2 separate regions of the Homo sapiens genome follow, and region 1 is linked to region 2. Evidence: promoter capture Hi-C in 16 types of primary human blood cells and fetal thymus (Javierre and others, 2016). All regions are on one chromosome and are shown on one strand. Each heading gives the region's core, a stretch centred on a gene start or on the middle of the fragment in contact. The rest is flanking DNA. Distances are from core to core; before and after follow the strand shown. Region 1 holds the start of SLC18B1 (solute carrier family 18 member B1). Region 2 holds the start of ZBTB2 (zinc finger and BTB domain containing 2).

Region 1 (7,589 bases), core at 653-3,152, about 19 Mb after region 2:
CTCGACCTCAGGTGATTTGCCTGCCTCGGCCTCCCAAAGTGCTAGGATTACAGGCGTGAGCCACAGCACCTGGCTTAGAGTGGAACTTTCTGTTCAGAGTGGTTCTCTAGGTTCTCCTTTACAACTTGCCCACTGGGGAATTTTTTTTTTTTTTTTTTTGAGATGGAGTCTCGCTCGGTTGCCCAGGCTGGAGTGCAATGGCATGATCTCTGCTCACTGCAACCTCCGAGTCCCAGGTTCAAGCGATTCTCCTGCCTCAGTCTCCTGAGTAGCTGGGTGCCATCATGCCCAGCTAATTTTTGTATTTTTGTAGAGACGGGGTTTCACCGTGTTGGTCAGGCAGGTCTCGAACTTCTGACCTCGTGACCCGCCCACCTCGGCCTCCCAAAGTGCTGGGATTACAGGCGTGAGCCACCGCGCCCGGCCCTCACTGGGGAGTTTTTACATAACCTTCAAGAACCAAGGTAACATCACTTCCTCAGGAAGTCATCCAGGACCCATTTGCCAAAGTAAATGGTTCTTCCAATATGTTTGTATACAACCGATTGCATTATAGTAGATTATTAATTAGTGTGAATTTCATCTGCTAGAAGGTGTGCTACTTGAGGGCAGAGTCTGGATGGGGCTCATTCCTCTTTAAATTCATAATGCCTGGCACAAAGTGGTAACTCAGTCTTTTGTTTTGCTTTGGCTTCAAAACAAGAATTTCCCAGTCCTTAAACTTTATTTATTTATTTGAGACAGAGTTTCGCTTTTTCACCCAGGCTGGAATGAGGTGGCACAGTAATTACAAACTTACTATCAGCCATACTGTGTACTGGAACTGACCTTGTACAGTGGATCTGAGGCAGATTCTCAGTCGATAAAGCTACCCTCACACAATTCTTTTGGATCTTGGCTCACTGTAACCTCCGCCTCCCAGGTTCAAACGATTCTCCTGCCTCAGCCTCCCTAGTAGCTGGGATTACAGGTGCCTGCCACCACGCCTGGCTGATTTTTTTGTATTTTTATAGTAGAGACAGGGTTTCACCATGTTGGCCGGGCTGGTCTAGAACTCCTGACCTCAGGTGAGCTGCCCACCTCGGCCTCCCAAACTGCTGGGATTACAGGCATGAGCCACCGTGTCCAGCCAGTCCTCGAGCTTTAACACTTCCCAAATAGTAAATACGGTGAAAATAAGTGAAACCTATTTTTTATGCAAGAAAACTGTGAGTGTGAGAGTAAGGTAGCAGCCATCATGTTCATGTGCTAACTACTAACACACTTTATCGCCAATGCTCACAGCCGCCCTACGAGATAAACATTATAATCTCAGTTGTACAGGTAGAGAAACTGACCTTGTCATCCAAAGTTACACACTGCCAGCAAGTGCCCTGGCTTGAATCCCTGGCACCTGCCTCCAGAGGTCGCACTCCTAGCCACTTCGCCATGCTTCCTCGATATTCATTAGTATTCTTGCAAATATTTTTCGACTCCAGGTGCTTCACATAGGTTAATTCATTTCCGGTTCAATAGTGTCTGGCTTCAGTAATTACGAACACTACCGCATTTACCCACTGTGAAAAATAATTCACTCTTTCAAAGTTCCTGTATAACCTAATTTTCTAATTCACTTTTGTGTCTTTCAGTTGAGGTACTCCCTGCCTTTTCTGTGTCTACATAAGCTTCCTTTCTTTCGTTTCGTAGGAATAAATTGAACTTATTTTAAGATTGAGGGGGGTACAGCTGTATGGAATATAGACTCATCTTTTTTCACTCTCTGTCACAGAATGAAAAAGGACACCATGATATAGCAGCTGAGGTGGTGGATTAAGATAATGAGGCGGGGGGGGGGCGCAAAACAAAAAAAAAAGGAGCCTTGCTCCACCCCTGCCCCGCCCCCGGCCTCCTCCCGGGGACCCAGAGTCCTGGAAGGCTTTGGGGAGCTCCGGGCCGGGCGGATCGCTGCCTGCAGGGAGTCGGGGATGCCAGGTTCCAGCTGAGCAGCGGCCGCCCGCCAGAGTGCCAGTGGCTCCTTGGAGGTCGAGTCCAAGGACGTGGCTTGAAGCCGGGAGCTGGGGCGCCGGAGTCCACGCACCGGGGATGGAGGCGCTGGGTGACCTGGAGGGACCACGCGCACCAGGAGGTGACCATGAATTGCGTGGCCGGGAGCCCGGAGACCAGCGGCGGCTTCCGGCGTGTCTCTTTAGCAACGATTGAATTGCTTATAGCTTGATCTGTTTCCGAGAGATTGGAAAAGGCTGGGGCCTGATCGTGGGGTTCGGGCCAGCGTTTCTTTTCTCTCTGGACGGGGTAAAGTTCCAGGATTGGATATGTGTCACGGTTTCTAATGACTTTCTAACCTATACCTCTGCTTTTTAAGTACTGTGTGTTTAATGCATTCAAATAAGTATGCCATTAGGCAAATGTAAAACGTTACCTTTCAAGTACCCATTGTTGTTGCCTTTCTTTTTAACTTTCATTTCCCTTTCTCATCTACTACAAACATTTTACAAAGATTCGTAAGACTTCCTCATGTTGCACTGATTTTTTTTTTCCTTCTGGACTGCAATGGCAACCTCTGACAAATAGAGCAAAGCAAATGTATTTCTCTTAAGTTTTTCCTAAAAACAATTTAATTTATAAATGGCTGATGGATTTGCTTGGATATTTGGAACTCAGTAATTGATTTCGTGTTTTTAAATGACAATTTAGCCCTGGAAATAAGTGTTAAATTAACTGATGTAAAAGACCAGTAATTAGGGTAAAAAAAAAGTATTTATTTATGAATTTGTGGGACTTGTCTATCCAGAAGCATACCGCTGTAAATATTAATTCACCAGCTGAATGATTTAGCTTGTTTTCTCCTACTTACACTTCATTTGACTTCAATACTGCCTTAGAAATCTTTGTTTTTTGTTTTTGTTTTTGTTTTTGTTTGTTTGTTTTGTTTTGCTTTTTTGAGACGGAGTCTCTCTCTGTAGCCCAGGCTGGAGTGCAGTGGTGCGATCTTGGCTCACTGCAAGCTCCGCCTCCCGGGTTCACGCCATTCTCCTGCCTCAGCCTCCCGAGTAGCTGGGATACAGGGGCCCGCCACCACGCCCGGCTAATTTTTTGTATTTTTAGTAGAGACGGGGTTTCACCGTGTTAGCCAGGATGGTCTCGATCTCCTGACCTCGTGATCCGCCTGCCTCGGCCTCCCAAAGTTCTGGGATTACAGGCGTGAGCCACCGTGCCCAGCCGAAAGCAGTACGTTTTCAAAACGGCAGTAATGTACAAGGATTGTGTTCCATTTGATCAAATGTGCTATATTCAAAATAGCCCTAAGCTTAGCAAATGATATCTTCAGAGTGCAACATATGTGCACAGAAATCACATTTGTGTACTTTAATCAGTAGTCTCAATTATATGCCTAATTGCTGCATGTTTGCATTCAAGGTGATGATCCTGCAGGAAGTGCAGGAGAGACCCCCGGGTGGCTTTCGAGAGAACAGGTTTTTGTACTGATATCGGCAGCTTCGGTGAACTTAGGTTCCATGATGTGCTATTCTATACTTGGACCGTTTTTCCCCAAAGAGGTAAGACATTTTTAAATCCTTAGGACCTCTGTTTTTTTGTTTGTTTGTTTTTTAAAAGCCTTTTGAATTATTTTATTTTATAGTATATAAAATGTAAAAATCTGCATATAGGACAGATGGTGTATAGAACTCCAGCCAATAGAATACTTCTTATAGAATGCCTGATACCAGGAAAAAAAATCCAGTCAAAAAGAACATCTTCTTGGGAGGTAATTCACCTAAAAGTAGTTGATCTTCTGAGAATTACTTTTCTTACCATGTAGTCTGATTAATCTTTATTTGGTTTCTGCAACTGAAACAAAGGAGTGCACTGAATAACTGAGATTCAAATGTTACTGCAATAGGTCTGTGTTAAGACAGTAACTATTTTCTCGAGGTTTTATTCACATTTTAGAATTAGGACGTTTTGATTCCCGACCCCCCTTCCTTTTTTTTTTTTTTTTTTTTTTCCTTTCGAGACAGGGTTTCGCTCTTGTTGCCCAGGCTGGAGTGCAATGTTGTGATCTTGGCTCACTGCAACCTCTGCCTCCCGGGTTCAATTGATTCTCCTGCCTCAGCCTCCCGAGTAGCTGGGATTACAGGCGCCTACCACCACGTCCGGGTAATTTTTTTTTTTTTTTTTTTTTTGAGATGGAGTCTCGCACTCTCGCCCAGGCTGGAGTGCAGTGGCGCGATCTCGGCTCACTGCAAGCTCCGCCTCCTGAGTTCACGCCATTCTCCTGCCTCAGCCTCCCAAGTAGCTGGGACTACAGGTACCCGCCACTACGCCCAGCTAATTTTTTTTTTTGTATTGTTTTAGTAGAGACGGGGTTTCACCGTGTTAGCCAGGATGGTCTCCATCTCCTGACCTCATGATCTGCCCGCCTCCGCCTCCCGAAGTGCTGGGATTACAGGCGTGAGTCACCGTGCCCGGCCGAATTTTTGTATTTTTAGTAGAGACAGGTTTTTGCCATGTTGGGCAGTCTGGCTTCGATCTCCTGACCTCAGGTGATCTGCTTACCTTGGCCTCCCAAAGTGCTGGGATAACAGGCGTGAGCCACCACGCCCAGCCCCGGCCCCGCTCCATATTCCCTCTTTTGACTTTAATTTCTTATGGACTCTAGCGCCAATGTTTATGCAAGGGAGGAATTCTGATTAATAGGGCCTATTCCTTCTAGGCATAGCCTTTTATATGGTGTTAAGATTTATAGCTAATGACACAGATTCAAAGATAATAATCCCTAGAAAGTCCAACTGGATTCTAGACGTCAATAGGATATAGTATGAAATGAATATGACTGGCTTGGAGTGTAGACAACATATCCATGTGTTTTATTTTGTGCTTTTTGCCAAATCCTTGGCTCACAGTGCAGTGGAAGCTTGTTAGTCCTCCAACTGCCTTTTAAACATGTAGTCCTTCGTTCTGTGTGTTACAAAAGAAGATAAAGTGGCTTCTCTGCTAAAGGAACAATATTGCCATGTACCCATACAGTGCTCTCTGGCTTCTAGTACACATTACCCCTTATTTATCCATTTAATCCCCGCAACAACCTCATACAGAATCTTGAGAATCTCAGCATGTTGCAAATGAAGAAACGGTCTCAGAAGTTGTGACTTGCCCAATTCAGTTCTATTAACTAGAGGTTTAATGAGTCCCTTCTCTAGAGCAGGCTAAGCATGGGATGTGTTAGGGTAGTATAAAAAAATCAGGGAAATGGCTTTCTCTTGTCTGCCCTTTGGGAGTGAAAAAATATGGGAAAAAAAAGGTTCCAATAATTTGGATATCCCTTAAGAAAAGGATGTCCAGAATGTTATAAGACTGTTTTTTTTTTTCTTTTTTTAAATCATTTTCTTCTGGCTTCCCTCTATCCATACTAATGTTATGAGAGCCTAGAAAGAAGAATGGTTAATTCTGCCATACATGGAGTGTGGATAGCAGAAGAAAGGGCGTTACTGAAAGGAACTTTCAGGCTAAATCTAAGTTGGGGCTTTTTTTTTGAGACAGGGTTTCACTCTGTCATCGAGGCTGAAAGTACAGTGGCATGATCAGAGTTCACTGCTGCCTCAACTTCCCAGGCTCAAGAGATCCTTTCGCCTCAGCCCCCTGAGGAGCTGGGGCACAGGCATGTGCCACCACGCCTAGCTATTTTTTTCTATTTTTAGTAGAGATGGGGTTTCACCATGTTGCCCAGGCTGATGTTGAGCTCCTGAGCTCAAGCAATCCGTCCACCATGTTGGCCAGGCCTCTCAAATGCTGGGATTACAGGTGTGAGCCACCGCACCTGGCCTAAGGTGGGCCCTAAGAAGTGTTAATTCTTATGGTGAACAACAGAGATGGAGGTGTTCTAGGTATAGTCACAGGAAGAGCAGAGTGAATGGCATGTTCCTGGGGAACAACAGACAGCTTCTTGATGTGGCTTGAGCCTGGGGTGAAGTGAGGTCTAATAGGAGACAGTGGATCTGAGGAGGCAGGCCTAAGATAGAAAGGAAGGGCACTTGTCAAGGACTTAGTCAGTGGGCAGTCATCAGAGGTGTTTGAGCAAGAAAGAGCAGTCTGGCCAGACTTGGGATTTTTAAATAATAATAATAACAATAATAATGCCAGGCATGGTGGCTCACGCCTGTAATCCCAGCACTTTGGGAGGCTGAGGTGGGAGGATCACCTGAGGTCAGGAGTTTGAGACCAGCCTGGCCAACATGGTGAAACCCTGTCTGTACTAAAAATACAAAAATTAGCCAGGCATGGTGGCACGTGACTGTAGTCCCAGCTACTCAGGAGGCTGAGACAGGAGAATTGCTTGAACCCAGGAGGTGGAGGTTGCAGTGAGCCGAGATCGCCCCACTGCACTCTAGCCTGGGCAACAGAGTGAGACTCCATCTCAAAAAAAAAAAAAATTAAAAAAAAAATAATAAGAGCCTGTGGAATTGAGATGGAGAAGAATTGGAGTGAGTGAATCAACCAGTGAGAAGGGCATTTCCTAGCTCAGCTGGAACTCAGTGAGTGCAACTAATGTTAGTTTCCTCTAAGTGAATAGGGACAAAGGAAAACCATGCTGTGGGTGTGTGCTTTTTAAGTTTTTGATTGAGTTTTGTGCTTATAGGAAATGATGACCAAAGAAAAAAGTCAAGCTTTTAAAGAATTAAAGTTCATTTTATTCAGAAGTCTTACCGAGGACTATAGGCTGAGTATTTCAGTTCACAGTTCATGTACAGGTAGTAGAGACTCAGTACATGCACGGTCACATCAAAGTTTGGGTGTAAGAGTACATCTGGTTATAGATTATGAATGTACCTTTGGTAATAGTTTATAAACGCATAATCACAACCCTGTTAGATGTTATCTTATGTGTAGGAAAAGGCAAAGCTGGGGCATTTATCATTTAAGGAATGTAATAGCTCAGGCAAGAGATGTGGGGGACCATGTGCTCTATCCTGCTCTGTCTTCAACTCATCCCTCCCAAGAGTTGCATGTTGTCACAGAGTCAGGGGTTTTATGACATTATGCTGGCAAGCAGAAGTGAGCAAAATGTGACTTCTTACATTTGCTACTTTTGTCTCGCCTCGCAGAGGGAAGGCTGAAAGAAAGGAGATAGAGGCAGGAGAGAGAACATTCTAACTTTAAAAGCTGTAAATATGAAGAGAAGGCTTTGATTTTTCATTTCTGATTAAAATCTTGTGGTCAACAAATGCATTGGTGAAGCCTCACCCTTCCTCCTGCATGTTCTGTCATTTTTCTTATTAGCTAAGCTAACTGGGCAAAGGAAAAACAGTGCCTTTCTTAAATTATGGTGTGGGATTCCTACTTCTATTCATCATTTTTCTTGCCACACTCATCTTTTGTCAGAGGACCAGAAATTGCTTATTTATTTATTTATTTATTGAGACAGAGCCTCGTTCCATCATGCCCAGGCTGGAGTGCTGCGGCATCGTCTCAGCTTACTGCAACCTCCGCCTCCTGAGTTCAAACAATTCTCCCGCCTCAGTCTCCCAAGTAGCTGGGATTACAGGCGCGCATCACCACACCCAGCTAATTTTTTTGTATTTTTAGTAGAG
Region 2 (6,826 bases), core at 3,898-6,397:
CAGCATAAAGAAGTGTAGTCTTCTTTACACTTAAATTCTCATCATCTTTAAGTCACAACATCCTTTTGGGTTCTCAAAATGTGCTAATTGGAATTAGTTTGCACAGTACATCTCATAGTGAGTATACAGGCAGCATCTGGAATGGTCTATTCAAAGTAGTTTGAATTCATTTAATAAGTACATTTCCTGTTTCCTCTAAAAATGAACAGGAGGGGTGCTAGTATGAGGAATCTAGACACCAAGCATTATCTGAATTTTAAAGTGTATTATAATATGGAGGTCTGCAAACTAGAAGACTGGCGAACAGTTCTACAGTGTAACTTCTTAATTTTCTCATCTTTATCAGCTCACATGTTATTCATGACAAAGGTCAGAGAAAATTTGTGAGGTTTTCCTAGACTGAATGACCTTGGGCTGCTTAATTACTTAAATTCTTTGAGCCTGCTTTTTCAAATTGAAGACTGAGAAGGAAGTGTGACTAGATGCCCTCAGAGAAAAAAACTGACTTAATTAACTAAGATAATTACTTATAGGTTGATTTCAGCATGGCTTTTGGTGCAATCCTAACTCATCTTTAAAATGGAAAAACAGGCCAGGGTGGTGGCTCATGCCTGAAATCCCAGCACTTTGGGAGGCTGAGGCAGGTGGATCACCTGAGTTCAAGAGTTCGAGACCAGCCTGGCCAATATAGTGAAACCCCATCTCTACTAAAAATACAAAATTAGCCGGACGTGGTAGGGGGCACCTATAATTCCAGCTACTAGGGAGGCTGAGGCAGGACAATCACTTGAACCCGGGAGGCAGAGGCTGCAGTGAGCTGAGATGACGCCACTGCACTCCAGCCTGGGCGACAGAGCAAGACTCCATCTCTAAATAAATAAATAAATAAAATATAAAGTGGAAAAACATATAAATGTGGCAGCTATTAAACTATGTCCATAATTCTTTGATACTCATCCCCTGAGTTTGGGCTGGACTTAAGTGACTTCTTTTTAATAGAATATGGCAGAAGTGATGGTGTGTGGCCTCCTCTCTGCTCTTGCTTGAATCACCTACTCTGCGGGTAGCTAGCCTTCGCCACTGCTTGAGGACACTCAAGCAGTCCAATGAAGAACTTCCACCATCAGCCATAGCTGACTTGCCAAATGAGAGCCACCTTGGAACCTCATGAAAAACCCTGACCCAGAACCACCTAAGTAAGCTACTCCCAGATTCCTGACCCACAGAACCTACATGAGATAAACACAAGTTTATTGCTTTAAACCACTAAGTTTTGGGTTAATTCGTAACAGCAAGAGAACACACCAGTATTTTTTAAATAGTGGGTCCTGACTCATTAGTGGTTGAAAAAATCAATTTAAGGCAGCAATATCAACTTTAAAAAAATGAAATAGAAGATAGCAGAGTACATCACTCTTAATACAAGTACTACTTCGTAAAAATTTTGTTTGTTTTACATGTATGTCTATACTAGGTGCAATTTAAAATGTGTTTCTTACAACCACAGCTGAAAACATTAAAACCCACAAGTCTAACCAGTAGGTTTAAAACAAAAAGCTCCCTAAAGCATAGGGAGTTCCTTGAGGGACTCTCATCTCAATAACAACCAACTATAAAACAAGCATTTTCTATAAACTTTATGACCAAACCAACGAAATGTAAGACACTCTCACAATACATCTTTTCCTATGTATATGCTAAGCTTGATACACAACACACAGGGCATGGTTATCTGCCCTAGAGTTTAATGTCTAACATGTAAAAGTACGCCATTTTCCTAATTTAAGACATTACTCAAAAGGACTTCCTTCATAAAATTAGTGAAAAATGCTGCTTTGGACTCAAACCGCATTTATTTTTTCCTACTATTATTTTTTTTAAATCAATGTTAAATTCCACCTTCAACCTAAGCGCGCGCACACACACACACACACACACACGAGATCTAGTACTATTAAATTTTCTGAGCTGGGCACAATGGCTCACACCTGTAATCCCAGCACTTTGGAAGGCCGAGGCGGGTGGATCACGAGGTCAGGAGATCGAGACCATCCTGGCTAACACTGCGAAACCCCGTCTCTACTAAAAAAAAAAAAATACAAAAAATTAGCCGGGTGTGGTGGCGGGCACCTGTAGTCCCAGCTACTTGGGAGGCTGAGGCATGAGAATCGCTTGAACCCAGGAGGCAGAGGTTGCAGTGAGCAGATATCGCGCCGCTGCACTCCAGCCTGGGCGACACAGCGACACCTCGTCTCAAAAAAAAATTTTTTCTGCTCATTGTCCAAGTCTCACTGGAACTATCCTCTTCGGAATACAAGCAAGTGCATATTTTCATGGTTGTGTCTCAGCAGAACACAAATCAAAACTTTCAGCAACACCAGACTCTGCAGAATATTCATGTATAACTTTTGATGAATCCACTCAGATTGCTTGCACTGTGATTTTCTTTGAAGTAAAAAGTGTTAAAACTATTTTTGAATTCCTAATTTACCAGATTCTCAAAATACCAAAATAAATTGGCACATAATTAAACAGCGATTTAACTTTTTTTTTTTTTTTCCTTTTTAGAGACTCTGTTGCCCAGACTAGGGTGCAGTGATGCGATCATGGCTCACTGCAGCCTCGAACTCCTGGGCTATATGCGATCCTGCCACCTCAGCCTCCCAAGCTGAGACTATAGACCCACACCATCACGCCTGGCTAATTCTTTTTTTCTAATACATGGGGTTTTCTTACATTGTCCTGGCCGATCTGCAACTCCTGGGCTCAAGCAATCCTTCCGAAAGTCCTGGGACTACAGGTGTGAGCCACCACGCTCAGCCTTTTTTTCCTTATTACTGTACTAGGGACATTTGTGGCTTTTCCACAATGAGACTTAGTAGAGAAATGACAGCTTCCCTTGGCCCTATCCTGAAATACACTAACTAGCTCTTCTCTGCCAGGGCTACCGTTTTCTCCCTAACCTTTGCAGATGTATGTATCCATATAAATGTTTCTATTTCAACAAACTGTAGAAAGTATACAGTCTGTACAGCTCCCCTTATAATGCTATTACCTGATGATCCTGACTACAAGTTGGAATTATCTGCATACTTGGCAAAATTCAAGTGTGGCTGCCTATGCCTCGAGAGAATGAGCAGCAAACCAGCCCAGTCCTAAATTCGAATAGCAGCTCTTAAAGAGAATAGGATGCTCTTGATAGGCTTTCTTTAGGACTGATATTCAATTTCTGGGCTTACCCCTGGGTTTATTTCTACAAGCCTATATAGAGTGTAACGCTAGAAAATATTCAGTGATGTTAAAAATAAGCATAGTTACTTTGACTCAAGACCAATTACTCTACACACACAGGCAAATTTCTGCCCAATGGTCTCAAGTTTAGCATTAGTTTTGCCCACTTTTTCTTTTATTCTTAAGTCAGTTTCACTCTTCACATGAGCACTCCACCAACACCATAAGGTTGAAAATTTTCAGAATGGAATTCCAAAAGAATTAAGAACCTACAGATCTCTAATTACAATTCTCTACAAAACAATCAACATCATTTTAGTTCCCTAGTAAGATGAGACAGACCTCAATACTCAAGCCAATCCAAGGAACCAGGCACCAGTCTGAAGGCCAACTTTGATATTCCAGTGACAGCGGTGCAGTAGAATACTTAGATCAGGGTCAGAATTTGGTTTTGGAGGCAGACATTTACCCACTAAAGTCATTTATCTAGCTGATCAAAAAACAGGAAAGTTCAAAGCGAGTATACACTGAATCTATTATCCATTTGAGAGCCACTGAAGCTACACAGCTGCTTATTTTGTCTTCAAAGAAGGAATTAGTCATCAGTACCTGCAGGTATAACTGGATTTCTAAATCAAACTCAGATTTTTAGGAGGGACACTTCTATGTATTAAATTGTCTTAAGATGGTAAGCTTGCCTTAAATGATTTGTAAACTATGTGCCAGGCATTGTGCTAGTGGTCAGACTGTGTAAACCAAAATGGGTTAGACATCACAACCAAGTTAGCATGCCTTGAAACCAGAGTATCCTAGAAACTGCTGCCTCCACTTCCTTAGGAATAAAGCCATATCCTTTCTAAATCTCAAAAAATCCTAGATGTGTAAAGAAATCATTAAATTCTAGTCCTCAAAGGACTGTATTTCCCCAAAAAAGACACGGATTCTAGAAAAATGGCAACAACCAAAAAGTAAACTTTAAAATGTTAAAAATGACCATCAGGAAATTCTAACTTCCCTGCCATGTTTCCGTGTTTCAGGATCTCCCCGTTAAAAGATTTTCCACACCTCTAAATCTAACAGAATAGCCAACTCTGGAATCCATACCTCAAAGACCAAAACCTAACAGGAGAATAAACTGTTCTCTTAACAAACATGCGTTGCAGACTTTCATTTTTGGGGGGGCCAAAACTTCAAAAACGAAAATCGTTGCTGAAATAACCATGAAATTCAACCCTAACAGAAACATCTTACGCCGCTCAACTCATCTGCAAGGTAAAGGAAGCACCTCTGCCTCTGTGCACGCTACAGGAATCTGTACTTCAGCATGACTTTCAGTTACCATTGGTGACACAAAGATACTGCTGGTTTACAGTATCTCCCCGGTTCTAAAGGCCACTCCATTTCAAGTCTTAAAGATTAAAACAAACACGAAAAGTCAAGGGACAAGGGTAAAGGCCAAGAGATCTCAAGCAGAAGCCGGCAGAAGGATACGAGCAGTGGCTCTCCATCTCTACCCCGAGCATCTCAAGGACTTGTGCTACCTAAACACTTTATGTAAACAAGGGGCTTGTGACTCAGGCCTCCAGCCCCAATAGGTGGAGAGAAGTTTCCTCGCCTCGGCTGCACATGGTCTGCAGAAGTTTGGCTGGAGCAGAGCGCGGAGCCTGGGTGGGAGCGGCAGTGGAGTGCTGCAGGCGGCGGCGGCGGCGGCAGAGCAGCAGGAGGCGGAGGCGGGCGGGGGGAGGGGAGCGGCTGGGGGGGGGGCGGAGGGGGCTCTTGCCGCCACTGCTCTCTCGCCGCCTCTCCCCCCCGGCGGGAGCCGCTCGCAGCCTCTTTGCACTAGTCTCTCCGCTCTCTCGGTCATGTGACCTTAACGTAACCGGACAGGAAAAGCCCCGCCGCCGCCGCCGCCGCCGCGCCGGAGACACCGACCGCGGCGGCAGCAGCAGCAGCAGCAGCGAGAGGCAGAGGCGGCGGCGGCGGGGAGGACAGCACGGCCGAGGCTGCCCAGAGGCGCCTCCTCCACACCCCCCGCCGCAGCAGCACCGGCGACAGGTAAGCGCGCACCGCCTCCGCCTCCCGGGGCCGGTGCCCACGTGCCACCCCCAGCCCAGGGTCCGGGAAGGCGGTGGGGGGGCGGGGGCCACCGGAGCTCGCAAACGGTTCCGGCAGAGGCGGTGGCAACAAAGACGACGAATGACCCTCGTACCAGGGCTACGGGTGCAGGCAGGCGGAAGGCCCGGGCCACTCGGGGACCCGGTTCTGGGAAGCGAGGGCAGGGGCGCCTCGCGGGGGCGGCGGCGGCTGCGCCTGGCGCCGGGGCTCTGGCCGCTTGACAAAACCATCCCCCGGAGCCAGGCGGCGGCGAGTCGGCGGCGCCTCCATCCGGGGTTTTGTGGGAGGGGGAGGGGACGGAAGCCGAGAGGGCGGGCGGCGGATCGGAGGGAGGGTGGGAGGGAGGAAGGGGAGGGGGGCGATTCGCGTTCGGTTCCCCGTGGCCGGTCCCTCCCTTCCCGCCGCCACCGCGAAGTGCGCCCTGGGCGGCGGCGGCCGGTGAGCGTCCCGCGCTGGAGCCCTCAGAGGCGGGCCCGTCAGGTGCGTAATCCTTCCGACGCCTCGCCGCCGCCTCCTGCTGCTGCCGCCGCTGCTGCTTCGGCGGCAAGGCCGCGAGCTGCGGAAGTGGGTTTGGGGGAGGGGAGGGAGGAGGGAGGGGGAGGGGAGGGATCCGGTCCGACCGGAGCAGGCCCGGCCTCTCTGGCGCTTCTCCCAGCTGCAGCGGCTCCTACAGCTGCTGCCGCTACTGCTGCGGCTCCGCCTCCCGCTCGCGGGCGGGGGCGCGCACGCGCGCTTCCGGCCTCCTCGGGTCTCGCGCTGTCTCCGGCTCTCGCGCGCGCTCATCCCTCTCCCTCTCTCCCTGTCTGGGCCACCCCCGCCCCCGGCGCCGGGGCTGTTGCGCCGGCCGGGGCGTTGCGCACGGCGTAGGCGTCGGCATTGTGTTAAACTCCGCGGGACTTGGGGCGAGCGCGCGCGCGCACGCGGGACTGAGGGAAGCGGCGAGCGTGCAACGCGGCCGGAGTGCGTCGCCCCTCCCTCCCCCTCAGCCCCTCGGGGACGGGGACAGGGAGGGGGCGGGGCCGGCGAGACCGGAGGGGGCCAGAGGGCCCCGGCGCCGCGCCCCCGGCCCCGCCCCGGGGCGGGTGGGACGAGGTGGCTGTTGCGGCGCGCTCAGGCGGGCGGGGGACGCGTCGGCCTCTGTGGCGCCGCCCTTGTCGCCTGCTCGCTGAGGCTGCAGGCCGGGCCCCAGTCCCGGGTACGGAGCGTGTTGAGCCGGCGGCCTCCAGCTTCCGCCCGACGCGCCATCTGCGCCTGCGATACAGCCCGGTTTGGCCCCGAGCGCGCTGTGCTTTCGGCTGCTTAGCCTTGGGGCGTGGGACCCGCGCGGCCCTCACGCCCCAACCGGACTCCAAGGCGGGGAGGCTGCTTCCCGGGGCCGGCGTCGTTTTCTCGGTGTAGCGAAACCTCTAAACCCTTCTTGTTTAAACAAAGCCGCAAGAGAGAACTTTTTAGCCAGAAGCTGCAAAGGAAGCTGGGTTTT

Evidence for each region. The method cuts DNA at HindIII sites, captures the fragments that hold promoters and counts their contacts. A CHiCAGO score of 5 or more calls a contact.
Region 1: the fragment with the promoter of SLC18B1 here is called in contact with the fragment with the promoter of ZBTB2 in region 2 in 1 of 17 cell types (total CD4 T cells); the score reaches 5.4 in total CD4 T cells.

The regions. Positions count from the first base shown.
Region 1 is chr6:132,792,950-132,800,538 of GRCh38, reverse strand. It overlaps SLC18B1 (solute carrier family 18 member B1), which reads left to right and starts at 1,902. Exons shown (of 14, transcript NM_052831.3): 1 at 1,902-2,125; 2 at 3,418-3,557. The coding sequence starts at 2,083. RefSeq lists a silencer at 1,835-1,884 and an enhancer at 3,116-3,616. The HindIII fragment of the contact is 1,643 bases long and covers 1,667-3,309 here.
Region 2 is chr6:151,389,880-151,396,705 of GRCh38, reverse strand. ZBTB2 (zinc finger and BTB domain containing 2) reads left to right here and starts at 5,147. Exons shown (of 3, transcript NM_020861.3): 1 at 5,147-5,286. LOC124901232 (translation initiation factor IF-2-like) reads right to left here. Exons shown (of 3, transcript XM_047419613.1): 2 at 6,234-6,752; 3 at 1-6,001. The coding sequence ends at 5,102. RefSeq lists an enhancer at 4,262-5,134 and silencers at 5,116-5,175, 5,186-5,575, 5,656-6,585. The HindIII fragment of the contact is 3,903 bases long and covers 3,927-6,826 here.